2 separate regions of the Homo sapiens genome follow, and region 2 is linked to region 1. Evidence: promoter capture Hi-C in 16 types of primary human blood cells and fetal thymus (Javierre and others, 2016). All regions are on one chromosome and are shown on one strand. Each heading gives the region's core, a stretch centred on a gene start or on the middle of the fragment in contact. The rest is flanking DNA. Distances are from core to core; before and after follow the strand shown. Region 1 holds the start of SLTM (SAFB like transcription modulator). Region 2 overlaps FAM81A (family with sequence similarity 81 member A).

Region 1 (5,609 bases), core at 1,516-4,015:
GAGAAAGGAATAAATCATGTTTATTTTCAATGCTAAAATAATAGTCAACTCAAACAACCTGGGACTATGATTAATACACAGTACCTGTCAAACTAGCACAGCATGCTAGGTAAAAGATATGAATCAAAACTACTGCAAGACACATGGTTAATTCCTGATATACTTATTTCTGAATTTCTATCGTTTTCCATTTTGAAATAGCCTCTGGTTTGTTGGCAGTCTTCTCATGACAAGCTTCTTTAAATACAGAAAATGTATCTCTCAAAGTGATACACTGAGTCAGAGTTATCTTAAAAGCTACCTTTAAGATAACTTTTTTACTTCTCTAAACTACATCCCCACCTCTCCCAGGGAATGCTTATTAGCCCTTTTCAATTTCCTTTGGCACAAACAGGGGACTCTCCTAACCTAGGAAGACTTAAAATAGTGAGTTGTCCTCATCTCTGATACCCAGGTGTGCTTAAGATCAAAATTTAATATTCCCTTTTCAATATTAATCCATTCATTTTATTTTAGTTGCAATCATTCAGTGGTTGGGAGTAACACTTGGATCACTTAAAGCAGTAAAGAAAATTAGATTACAAAAAATGCAGCAGCTGTTCATGACAAACTCTGCATGAAAATTGTAGGTAAAGACCAGAATCCAGATATATCATGTCCACCCTCTGCCACTGTCCTTATAGGAGGGAGAAATTTGCAGTTATTCAAATAAAGGTTTCATTTACCAAGAAGCTTTAAAAAATACCTAAGTTCCATTCATACTGCAAAACGTTCATTTAAAACCACTTTTAGCTAGTCACTAAATCATTATATCCTAGAAATAAATATATTTTGCTCTAGCTTAAAAGTTAAAAATAAGAATCTTTAACATCCCTATAATTTAAAACTTTTTTAAGCTAATTAATCATGGATTTTTCCCTCTACCTTGTTAGTATGATTGGTGAGGTCTTTTTGAATTTCACTAAAAATTAGGAGGTATAATGGCATAAATGCAAATTAAGTTCACCAAGTCAAACAAAGTACTAAACATAAAGGTTATAGAATTTTAATATACTAAAGAAAACAGCAAGGAGGCAAGGTAAAAGATTTGGTAGGAATTCCATCAAAACTCTGCCAATTGTGGGGCAAGGTAGACATGTGTTAAACTGTATTTTATTCAGGTCTTCACACTATGAAGCATCATTACACAACTTGACTTTGTAATTTTTTCCGGAAGCAATAAAGAACTGTTCTCACTTTCTAATCAGCTTCAGCCGAATCTTAAGGGCTACAAGTCACCCAAAGCCTGGCAACAGTAACTTTTCTTCCTTGACCCAAGAAGGCAGACTGCCAGAGGGAAATAGCAAAGAGTAGCACTATATAAACAGGGCAAGAGGCACAAGAGCAGAGGCAAGTTATATAACCAAAATATATTTTAAAACATGTTCATAACTCGTAACAACCTTTGCCTTTAGTTGGTTTCTTGTTTGGAGTATCAGTTGAAACAGTTAATTCAATATTATCTGGATCGCCTCCTTCCTCTTCAATAGCCTACATTAGAAAGAGAAGTTAATATGCTACACAATCTATCTAAACTTATTTTATAAAAACGAAATGAAAAAAAATTTAGCAAACCTCAAGCCTCAAGACATTAGAATTGCCAGTCATTTCATCAACCGACTTCAAAAATGAGCAATTAAACTACACGAAAGAGTGAGAGAAACTTTCAGGGGAAAAAAATCATTAGGTATCAAAATCGCAAGGAGTTTTAAATTCTACCGTGTCAAGATAATTAAATATCACATCATACTGGCCAAAAATCCAAATATGTTCTATTGCAGAAAAGTTGCTAGCTACTAAAGTAAATAACTAAAAAGAGTTTTCCTAGTTTCTGTAATGCAAACTTACTGCTCCTCTGCTACAATTCCAACGCTCACTCAAACCAGAAAGCTAATCAGGAAAGAAAAAGTAATTATTGCGCTGATGCAAAAACTAAAAGCCTAGTGGAAAACAAAAACTCTGTCACCCACCCATCAACTCCCACTACCAATTCCCCCTCAAGATGGGGAAGAAACGGTTGGGCACAATTAAACGGTAACTTCGCAGAAGTCACCAAAGTAACCATTCCCTCTGAGGCCAAGAAATGCACACGCTCACCATGGCTAAAGGCTGGGGAGCCAGCGCCTCCCAGGTCTCCGCGATCGCCCTTGGGAGGCCGCGCCGGCCGGCCGCAACCCTCGCAGCCTGGCGGGGACGTCCCGGGGAGGCGGAGGCACGCTGGGCTGCGGTGGCCGGTCCCTCGCAGGCCCGGCCCGGCCCGGGGCGCGGGGCGGGGGCACCGCGGAAGGGTCCCCGTCCTCCACGCTCGCGGGAGCCGCCCCTGGCCTCCCTACCATGCCGTTCCGCAGGTCCCAGCGGCTGCGGGCAGCCGGAGGCTGCGGCGGAAGCGGGGCGCCGAGGCGCGGCCTAAGTTCCCCTTCCCGGTCCTTTCCGGTCCTCGCCGGGCCTCACCTGCTTGAGTCGGGAGATGAGCACGGTCTTGACTCCGGTGATGTCTAAGTTCCGCCGCTTCAGCTCGGACTTCAGATCGATGACCCGCAGATCGGTGATCTTTTTACCTTCCGCCTGACCCGAGGCGGCCGAGGCTGCCACCGCACCGGTAGCGGCAGCCATCTTAGAAGAGCAGCGCGCTGCCGAGGCAGCGAGTGGGCTGCAGGGCGGCGGCAGCAGCGCCAACTTCCACCCAGGCCTCGGCGGCCGCCGGCGCCGCGCAGCGCTGCGCACAATGAGCCGCTGGCCCCTCCCCCGGTCCGCCACCCTAGCGCAACCTGCAGCAGCAGCCGCCAGCACCCGGATGACGGCCGCGCGTGCGCGTTGGCGCAGGGACCGGCAGCGGCGCGCTCGGTCGAGCGGGCCGCGGCCACTTGGGCGGTGCGCTCCCTTGTGTGGACTGGGAGGTCGGGCACGTCCTACCGCAGCAACGTCCGCCGCGCCGCCGTTCTCTCGTCGCTTCGTTAGCCATTTTCTTGCAACGTCTTGAGTCTTGAGCAACAACGATGTGCGGGCACTGAATGACATAGTGCGCGCGTTACTCAACACAAACCGAGGGGGCGCGTGCGCGCGCTGAACCTCTCAAGGAAATACTTTATCAGTTCTGCTGAATAATCGAAAAATTGTCGCCGGTGTGCACCAACGAACTAGGTTCCCCGAGTTCCATTCAAAAGACCTCAAAGCAGTTCTAGGGCTGTTAGTCCAAAGAATAGGAAGGGCTGGCCTTTGACACATGGCTCATTGGCTGTCTCAGGAGAAAACATCATCGCCCTGCCCATGGCAGCTTAGGTTATTCTAGGGCTGCCCTTCCTCACTTGAAAAACAGGAAAACTTCTTTCTTGTTGGCCTCAGGTTTGCTATCCTCCCCGGTAGACCTGATGGCTCAACACGAAATTGTTCAATGAAAGAGAAAACTAGCTTATAAGTACTTGTTGCCGTTATCATATACTGTGTTCACTATTTTGCCCCCCAAAATTTGGGATTCCAAGAACAGTGAGCATCTTCTTATGGAGGATCGGCCTGTACAAGTGAGTACCTATTTGTAATTTTACCTTGTATTATTCATTATCAAAGTGCAAGCATTGATAAAATAAAACGATTCTATAAATTCCATAAGGTGATTATGATGCACAATTAACTATACTGTATTTCCTGGTTTTACAACTTAAATTCCTGAGATCTGACTCACTTTAGGTTACTTTTTCTGATTGGCTCAAAAAAAAGGAAGACTGGACATTATAAAAGAATACCTGACATTAGGGTAGTTCTTTACAGTTTATAAGGCACTTTGACGTACAGTAACCCCCTTAATCCTTCCCAAGTCTGTCAAGTAAATCTCCGTGAGGCTTAGAGAGATTAAATGACTTGCCCATGTTCACACAGCTGGTATGTGGCCGAGCTGTGCTCAAATCCCAGGCTCCTGATTCCAAATCCAGCTCTGTCTCTGCTACAACATTGGATTCACAATAATAGAAGTTTAGAATGCAAGACTCCTTAGAAATCTTCTGGCCCATCACTTGAGGTCAGGAGTTCAAGACCAAACTGGCCAAGATACAGGGTTTAGTAGAAACCCCGTCTCTACAAAAAATACAAAAATTAGCCGGGTGTGGTGGTGAGCACCTGTAATCCCCGCTACTCGGGAGACTGAGGCAGGAGAATCACCTGAACCCGGAAGGCAGGGGTTGCAGTGAGATCCGGCCGCTGCACTCCACCCTGGGCAACAGAGCAAGATCCTGTCTCAAAAAAAAAAAAAAAGTCTGGGTGCTGTGGCTCATGCCTGTAATCCCTGCACTTTGGGAGGCTGAGGTGGGTGGATCACTAGAGGTCAGAAGTTCAAGACCAGCCTGGCCAACATGGTGAATCCCCATCTCTACTAAAAATACAAAAAATTAGCCGGGCATGGTGGTGCATACCTGTAATCCCAGCTACTTGGGAGGCTGGGGCAGAAGAATCGCTTGAACCCAGGAGGCGGAGGTTGTAGTGAGCTGAGATCACGCCATTGCACTCCAGCCTGGGCAACAGAGCTAGACTCCGTCTCAAAAAGAAAAAAAGAAAAAAAAATCTTCTGGCCCAGCCCTCAAGATTTTAAGAGATTTATCTGGGAACTTACAGTTACACTCTCTCTTTTTTTTGTTTTTGTTTTTATTTTTATTCTTTTGACAGGGTCTCACTGTGTCACCCAGACTGGAGTGCAGTGGCGTGATCATGGCTCACTGCAGCCTCAACCTCCCAGGCTCAAGTGATCCTCCCACCTCAGCCTCCTGAATAGCTAGACTACAGGCGCCTGCCACTATGCCTGGCTAATTTTTGTATTTTTTGTAGAGACAGGGTTTCACCACGTTGTTGCCCAGTCTGGTCTCAAACTCCTGGGCTCAAGTGATCCTTCCCCCTCAGCCTCTCAAGTAGCATGCCAGCACACCCAGCTAATTTTTCTTTTCTTTTCTTTTTTTTTTTTTTTTTTTTGTAGAGACAGGGTCTCACTATGTTGCCCAGGCTGGTCTCAAATTCCTGGTCTTACACTATCCTCCTGCTTCAGCCTCCCAAAGTGCTGGGATTACAGACGTGAGCCATCACACCTAGCCCGAACAGGCTTTTAAACCTTTCCTACCTTGAAACATCTTCATTTGACTCAGCTATTTCCTTTTGACAATAGTTACATTATTGTGTACTTATCTTAATGAAAAGCACATAGGTTATATTAAATAGTGATGGGGAGATAAATCATATAGATGTCTCTCTGAAGATAATGAAGATGTTTGACAAAACACTTTGAAACTTTTTTTTTTTTTGAGATGGAGTCTCACTCAGTCGCCCAGGCTGGAGTGCATTGGCACAATCTCGGCTCACTGCAAGCTCCGCCTCCCGGGTTCACGCCATTCTCCTGCCTCAGCCTCCCGAGTAGCTGGGACTACAGGCACCTGCCACTATGCCTGGCTAATTTTTTTGCATTTTTAGTAGAGATAGGGTTTCACCGTGTTAGCCAGGATGGTCTCGATCTCCTGACCTCATGATCCGCCCGTCTCGGCCTCCCAAAGCGCTGGGATTACAGGCGTCAGCCTCTGCGCCCGGCCTACATTTTG
Region 2 (5,609 bases), core at 2,294-4,793, 540 kb after region 1:
TTGGGCACTGTTGTTAGGCTCATATACATTTATAATTGCATATATCTACCTGATGCATTGACCCTTTTGCCATAGAAAGTCTCTCTGTGTCTCTTGTAATGTTTCTTCTCTTAAAGTCTGTTTTGTCTGGTATCAGTACAGGTATTCCATCTCCTTTGTGACTACTGTTTGCATAATTCATGTTCTTTTTTTTCTGGAGAGACAAAACCTCTGTTACCCAGGCTGGAGTGCAGTGGTGCAATCATAACTCACTGCAGCGTCAAACTCCTGGGCTCAAGTGATCCTCCCACTTCAGCCTCTAAGTAGCTGGGACTACAGACACATGCTACCATGCCCTGCTAATTTTTCTTATTTTTTTTTTTTGTAGAGATGAGGTCTTGCTTTGTTGCCCAGCCTCTGCCTCTGCCTCCCAAAGTGCTGGGATTATAGGTATGAGCCACTGTACCTGGTCTCCTTTTTTTGATAATTCTCACCAAGCTTGTGCCTCTTGGCTCTGGCCTACATACATAGTTATCAAATTTCACTGTTCTTTGAGATTCTCACATGTTTACTAAGGACAAGGATTCACTCAGAATTATATCCTAATTGAAGTGCATTTGTCTTCAGGGTTCTAAGAGTTCTAGTGGATACTTCTTATGATGGTTAAAGAAAATGACTGTGTATTTGTTAGTAAGACAGTGCAATGGGTCTGTGTTGCTTTGGTGCCTTATGGTATCCATTCCAGATTTCTTTTGGTCACAGCAATTTGATTTCTTTTTGGATTTACCTTTCTTTCATTGAATACAAACTGGGATGGCTAATAATCAGGTTGCCTTATCCCCTTTTTAGCTAAAGGGGGTTGGGGCCCATAACTCAGGCTAGAGCACTGAGACCCTCCCTTTCTGGAATTTAAAACCTGAGCAGGCTGGGCTGGGCGCGGTGGCTCATACCTGTAATCCCAGTGCTTTGGGAGGCCGAGGTGGGAGGAATCGTTGAACCTCGGAGGTTGCTGCAGTGAGCCGTAGTCATGCCGGGGTACTCCAGCATGGGTAACAGAGGGAGATGCTACATTCAAAACTAAAACCAAACCAAACCAAACCAAAACATAACGAAAACCTGAGCAGGCTAATTCAAAGACTGGAAATGGCCATAGTACCTTCCTTGCAGCCACTTTGCCTGCGGGATACTGGCTAGTAGTTCCTGCTGCTTGGACCTCAGGAAATACTCTTTGTGTCTTCTTCTCAACCTGCATAACCCAGCTTCCCTGTTGATTATGTGTTCCTTTCCCCATTCCTTTTTTTTTTTTTTAAATGTTTTCTGGAGACGGGGTCTGGCTGTGCAGTGGTATGATCATAGCTCACTGTAGCCTCTAACTCCTGGGTTCAGGTGATCCTCCCACCTCAGCCTCCTGAGGAGCTGAGACTACAGGCACAGGCCACCATGCCCAGCTAATTATTTTATTTTTTGTAGAGACGGGAGTCTTGGTATGTTGTCCAATCATTTCCATTAACCCCCTTAAGTTAGTCAGGTCCAATTACCTGCAACTAAAGAAGTGCAATGACCTCAGAGGAACGTAGAAAGTTTACAAAATTGCTGTAAATAATATACTTGTCTTTGGATGCTGGTATCTATATTAAGAATGATCTTTTCAGTTTTATTTTTGGGTGCTGAGTCAGTTTTATCCCAGACGCTAAAAACTAAGCAACCCTAAGTTGACAACTGTACAAAATTGAAGAACCCCAACTCGAACATTTCAATTTTGAAAGGGATTTCAGATTTATCAAGAGACTGATAGCTCTGCTGCACCTAAATCTAACGACAGGTAAAATCCAAGTGATGGGGATCAATAAGAATTCTCAGGTTCCCATCCCCTCAACCACTGGCAAAGAAGTACAGTAGGCCCCTTTATCTGTGGCTTCACTCTCCGCAATTTCAGTTATCTGTGGCCAACCATGATCTGGAAATATTAAATGGAAAAATCCATAAATAAGCAATTGATAAGTTTTAAATTGTGTGCCATTCTGAGTAGCATGATGAAATCTTTCACCACCCGGCCTGGGTGGGACGTGAATCACTACTTTGTCCACACTGTATATGCTACCTGCCCGTTAGTCACTTAGTAGATGTCTTGATTATCAGATCAAAAAAACATAGTATATGTAGGGTTTGGTACTATCTGCAGTGTCAGGCATCCACAGGAAGTCTTGGAACGTGTCCCCTGCAGATAAGAGGGTGCCAGGGTATGTTACAAAAAATACAAACTTTTCCCATGTTTCACATTAGAAAATACTGTTACTTCCCCATTCTTAGAATACCCAGCACTTTCCTGTGGGAACTCAGCTCTGTTCCCTTTGCTTACGGGGGTGGGGGAAGACTAGAGATGGGAGTCAGTCTATTCTGACATTACCGTCCCCTCCAGGTAAAAGCACAGTATAACTCTACCCTTAAGAAATCCTGGTCTTAATTTTTTCTGTCAACGTAAGAGGTGATAGTGTTTTAGCTGCAACTGTCGGATCCAGGGAATAATTTCCTATTTGGTAGCTGCCACGTACTACTCCAGTGGCCAGAACCACTTTATTTTATTTTATTTTTTTAGAGACAAGGTCTTGCTATGTTGCCCAGGCTGGTCTTGAACTCCTGGGCCCAAGCAGTCCTCTCACCTTGGCCTCCCAAAGTGTTGGGATTACAGGCATAAGCTACAGTGCCCAGCCAGAACCATTTTAAATACATAATTTCCAACTTCAGCTGGGCCACTGATGCTATTTAACAGTTCCTTCATTTTAGGAAGCCCTCCTTGCCAGTTCCTCTCATGCCCCCAGTTTCCTTTCCCTCAGTGTATCCTGGACACTGAACTCGTGCCACTCTTACTATAGCATTTATTGAATAGGACTAACATTGTTACTTTACAAGCCTCTCAAAAAGAGAGGAACCTTGTCTTCCTCATCTTTGCATTGTCTAGTACAATATTTGGAGCAAAATGCGGTGAATGCTGTCATAGTATATTTGTGTTGCTATAACAAAATACCTGAGATTGGGTAATTTATAAAGAACAGAAATTTATTTCTCACAGTTCTGGAGGCTGGGAAGTCCAAGCCCAAGGCACTGGCATTTGGCATCTGGTGAGGGTCTTCTTGCTGCATGCTTACATGGCAGAAGGTGGAAGGGCAAGAATGATGAATCCTGTGTCCTCACATTGCAAAAGGATTGAACAGAGTGGACCTCCTCCCATAAACCCTTTTTATAAGGGCCCCAGTCCATTCAGGGTGGAGCCCTCATGACTTAATCACCTCCTGAAATACCACGCCTCTTAATACCACCACAATGGGGATTAAGTTCAACATAATTTTTGGAGGGGGTGCCATCATTCAAACCTCAGCAAATACTTATTAAGTGAATAAATGCCCAATACAGAGTGAAGCCAGTTGTAGATATGCTGGTAGCAAAAAGGACTAGAAGAGACTATGAGGTTATCAATGCAAAGAACATCCTTTTCAGATAGGCTGAGTGAAGTGGCCTGAGGTATCAAGGCCAGTTAGTGGCAGTGCTGAGAATAAACCCATGTGGCAAAACTCCAAAAATATGCTCTTTTCTCTTTTCTACTTTACCTCTTAGAAGCTCTTCTAGAACCTGATCTTCTATAATCGACTCTCAAATGTGACAGGCTGTGCTATTCAGCCATTCTTTGCTTTCTGAGTTTCAGGAAGAACTTGTTTATGAAACTAGATAATTCTAGCTTTAGTTCTCACTGAGTTCTCCCCTGACCCATCCTTGCTTTGATGAGAGATCACTTGAATTGCTTCAATAATCAGCTGTATCAAAAAATCTGCCTAAGGAATCTGAAGTCATCAATTGTTTAGGCTTTTGATAATTATTTTTTCCAAAACCTTTTTTTTTTTTGAGACAAGGTCTCACTCCCTCACCCAGGCTGGAGTGCAGTCGTGTGATCTCAGCTCACTGCAACCTCCGCCTCCCAGGTTCAAGTGATTCTCATGCCTCAGCCTCCCAAGTAGCTGGAATTTCAGGCACACCACCACACCCGGCTGATTTTTGTATTTTTGTAGAGACAGGGTTTCACCATGTTGGCCAGGCTGGTCTTGAGCTCCTGTCCTCAAGTGACCAACCAGTTATGTATGGCCTCCCAAAGTGCTGGAATTATAGGCATGAGCCACCATGCCTGGCCTAAACATGTTTCTTTAAGATGATTTTTGAAAAATTTACAATGCAGTGAGAAAGTAATTTCAATTTTGCTGTTTTCCCAACGTCCGAAACACATTTTATGTAATGGTTATTCTTGCCTTAACCAGACAGCACTCTTTTATATTTACATGTATTTTTGGAGTGTGCAATTTTGCAAGTGATGATTTCCGTGATAGACAGGGAAAACTGAGTAAAATCTAAATTTGGCAAAAAATTTAGTTTGTATTTGAGTGTTTACTTTTTTTGTAACTGGTAGTAACTATATATAATGACAAAGTAACAACAAGGAAGTTTAAAAATTTAAGACTCCAATGTGAAACACTAATTATATTGATTTATATGTATTATGAACTTAAGCATGTCTACCTAAACATGTTAGGATGCTTGATGACAGATCAGAATTGCTGTCTTATAGCCAAACTTCATTAAAATGAAATCATGATTGTCTTAGTTTAGGCTGCTATGACAAATTACCATAGACTGGGTAGCTTAAACAACAGAAATTTCTTTTTCATGATTCTGGAGACTGGGAAGTCCAAGATCAAAATGCTGGTAGATCCAGTGTCTGGTGAGACCCTGCTGCCTGAATTGTAGATGGTCGTCTTTTCGTATCCTTGCATGGCAGAAAGTAGAGAGCAGAAGCAAGACCTTCTTTTAAGGTACTAATCCCATTCGTGAAGATTCTACCCTCATGACCTAATCACCTCTTATAGGCCCCACCTCCTAATACCATCACATCAAGGGTTAGGAGTTTAACCTACAATTTTTTTTTTTTTTTTAGACTGGGTCTTGCTCTGTCATTCAGGCTGGAATGCAGTGGTATGATCATGGCTCACTGCAGCCTCAACCTCCTGGGCTCAAGTAATCCTCCTGCCTTGGTCTTCCGAAGTGCTGGGATTACAGGCATGAGCCACCACGCTTGGTGAACATATGAATTTTTGGAGGACACAAACATTCAGTCCGTAACAATGATGTAGAGTAAATTTAAAAAGTACTAAAAGGAAGTCTTCATTTATAAGTAATATAAAAATTGGCACCAGGCACGGTGGCTCACGCCTGTAATCCCATCACTTTGGGTGTGGGATCCACAAGGTGGGTGGATCACTTGAGGTCAGGAGTTCGAGACCAGCCTGGCCAACATGATGAAACCCCATCTCTCCTAAAAATATATATAAAAATTAGCTGGGCCTGATGGCATGTGCCTGTAATCCCAGCTACTTGGGAGGCTGAGGAAGGAGAATTGTTTGAACCTGGGAGGTGGAGGTTGCAGTGAGCCAGGATCATGCCACTGCACTCCAGCCTGGCTGACAGAGCAAGACTCCATCTCTAAATAAATAAATAAATTGGGAGAGTGGGCATAATATAAAACTGATACTTGGCCGGGCGTGGTGGCTCACACCTGTAATCCCAGCACTTTGGGAGACCAAGGTGGG

The links. The method cuts DNA at HindIII sites, captures the fragments that hold promoters and counts their contacts. A CHiCAGO score of 5 or more calls a contact.
Region 2: a fragment that was not itself captured here is called in contact with the fragment with the promoter of SLTM in region 1 in 9 of 17 cell types (activated CD4 T cells, non-activated CD4 T cells, total CD4 T cells and 6 more); the score reaches 8.2 in activated CD4 T cells.

The regions. Positions count from the first base shown.
Region 1 is chr15:58,930,914-58,936,522 of GRCh38, forward strand. SLTM (SAFB like transcription modulator) reads right to left here and starts at 2,766. Exons shown (of 21, transcript NM_024755.4): 1 at 2,491-2,766; 2 at 1,443-1,530. The coding sequence starts at 2,652. RefSeq lists silencers at 2,123-2,382, 2,753-2,932 and enhancers at 2,433-2,672, 2,963-3,102, 3,123-3,212. The HindIII fragment of the contact is 26,250 bases long and covers 731-5,609 here.
Region 2 is chr15:59,471,287-59,476,895 of GRCh38, forward strand. The region is part of intron 3 of FAM81A (family with sequence similarity 81 member A); the gene reads left to right. Among named protein-coding and RNA genes, the nearest start is that of FAM81A, 36 kb to the left of the region's middle. The HindIII fragment of the contact is 6,137 bases long and covers 476-5,609 here.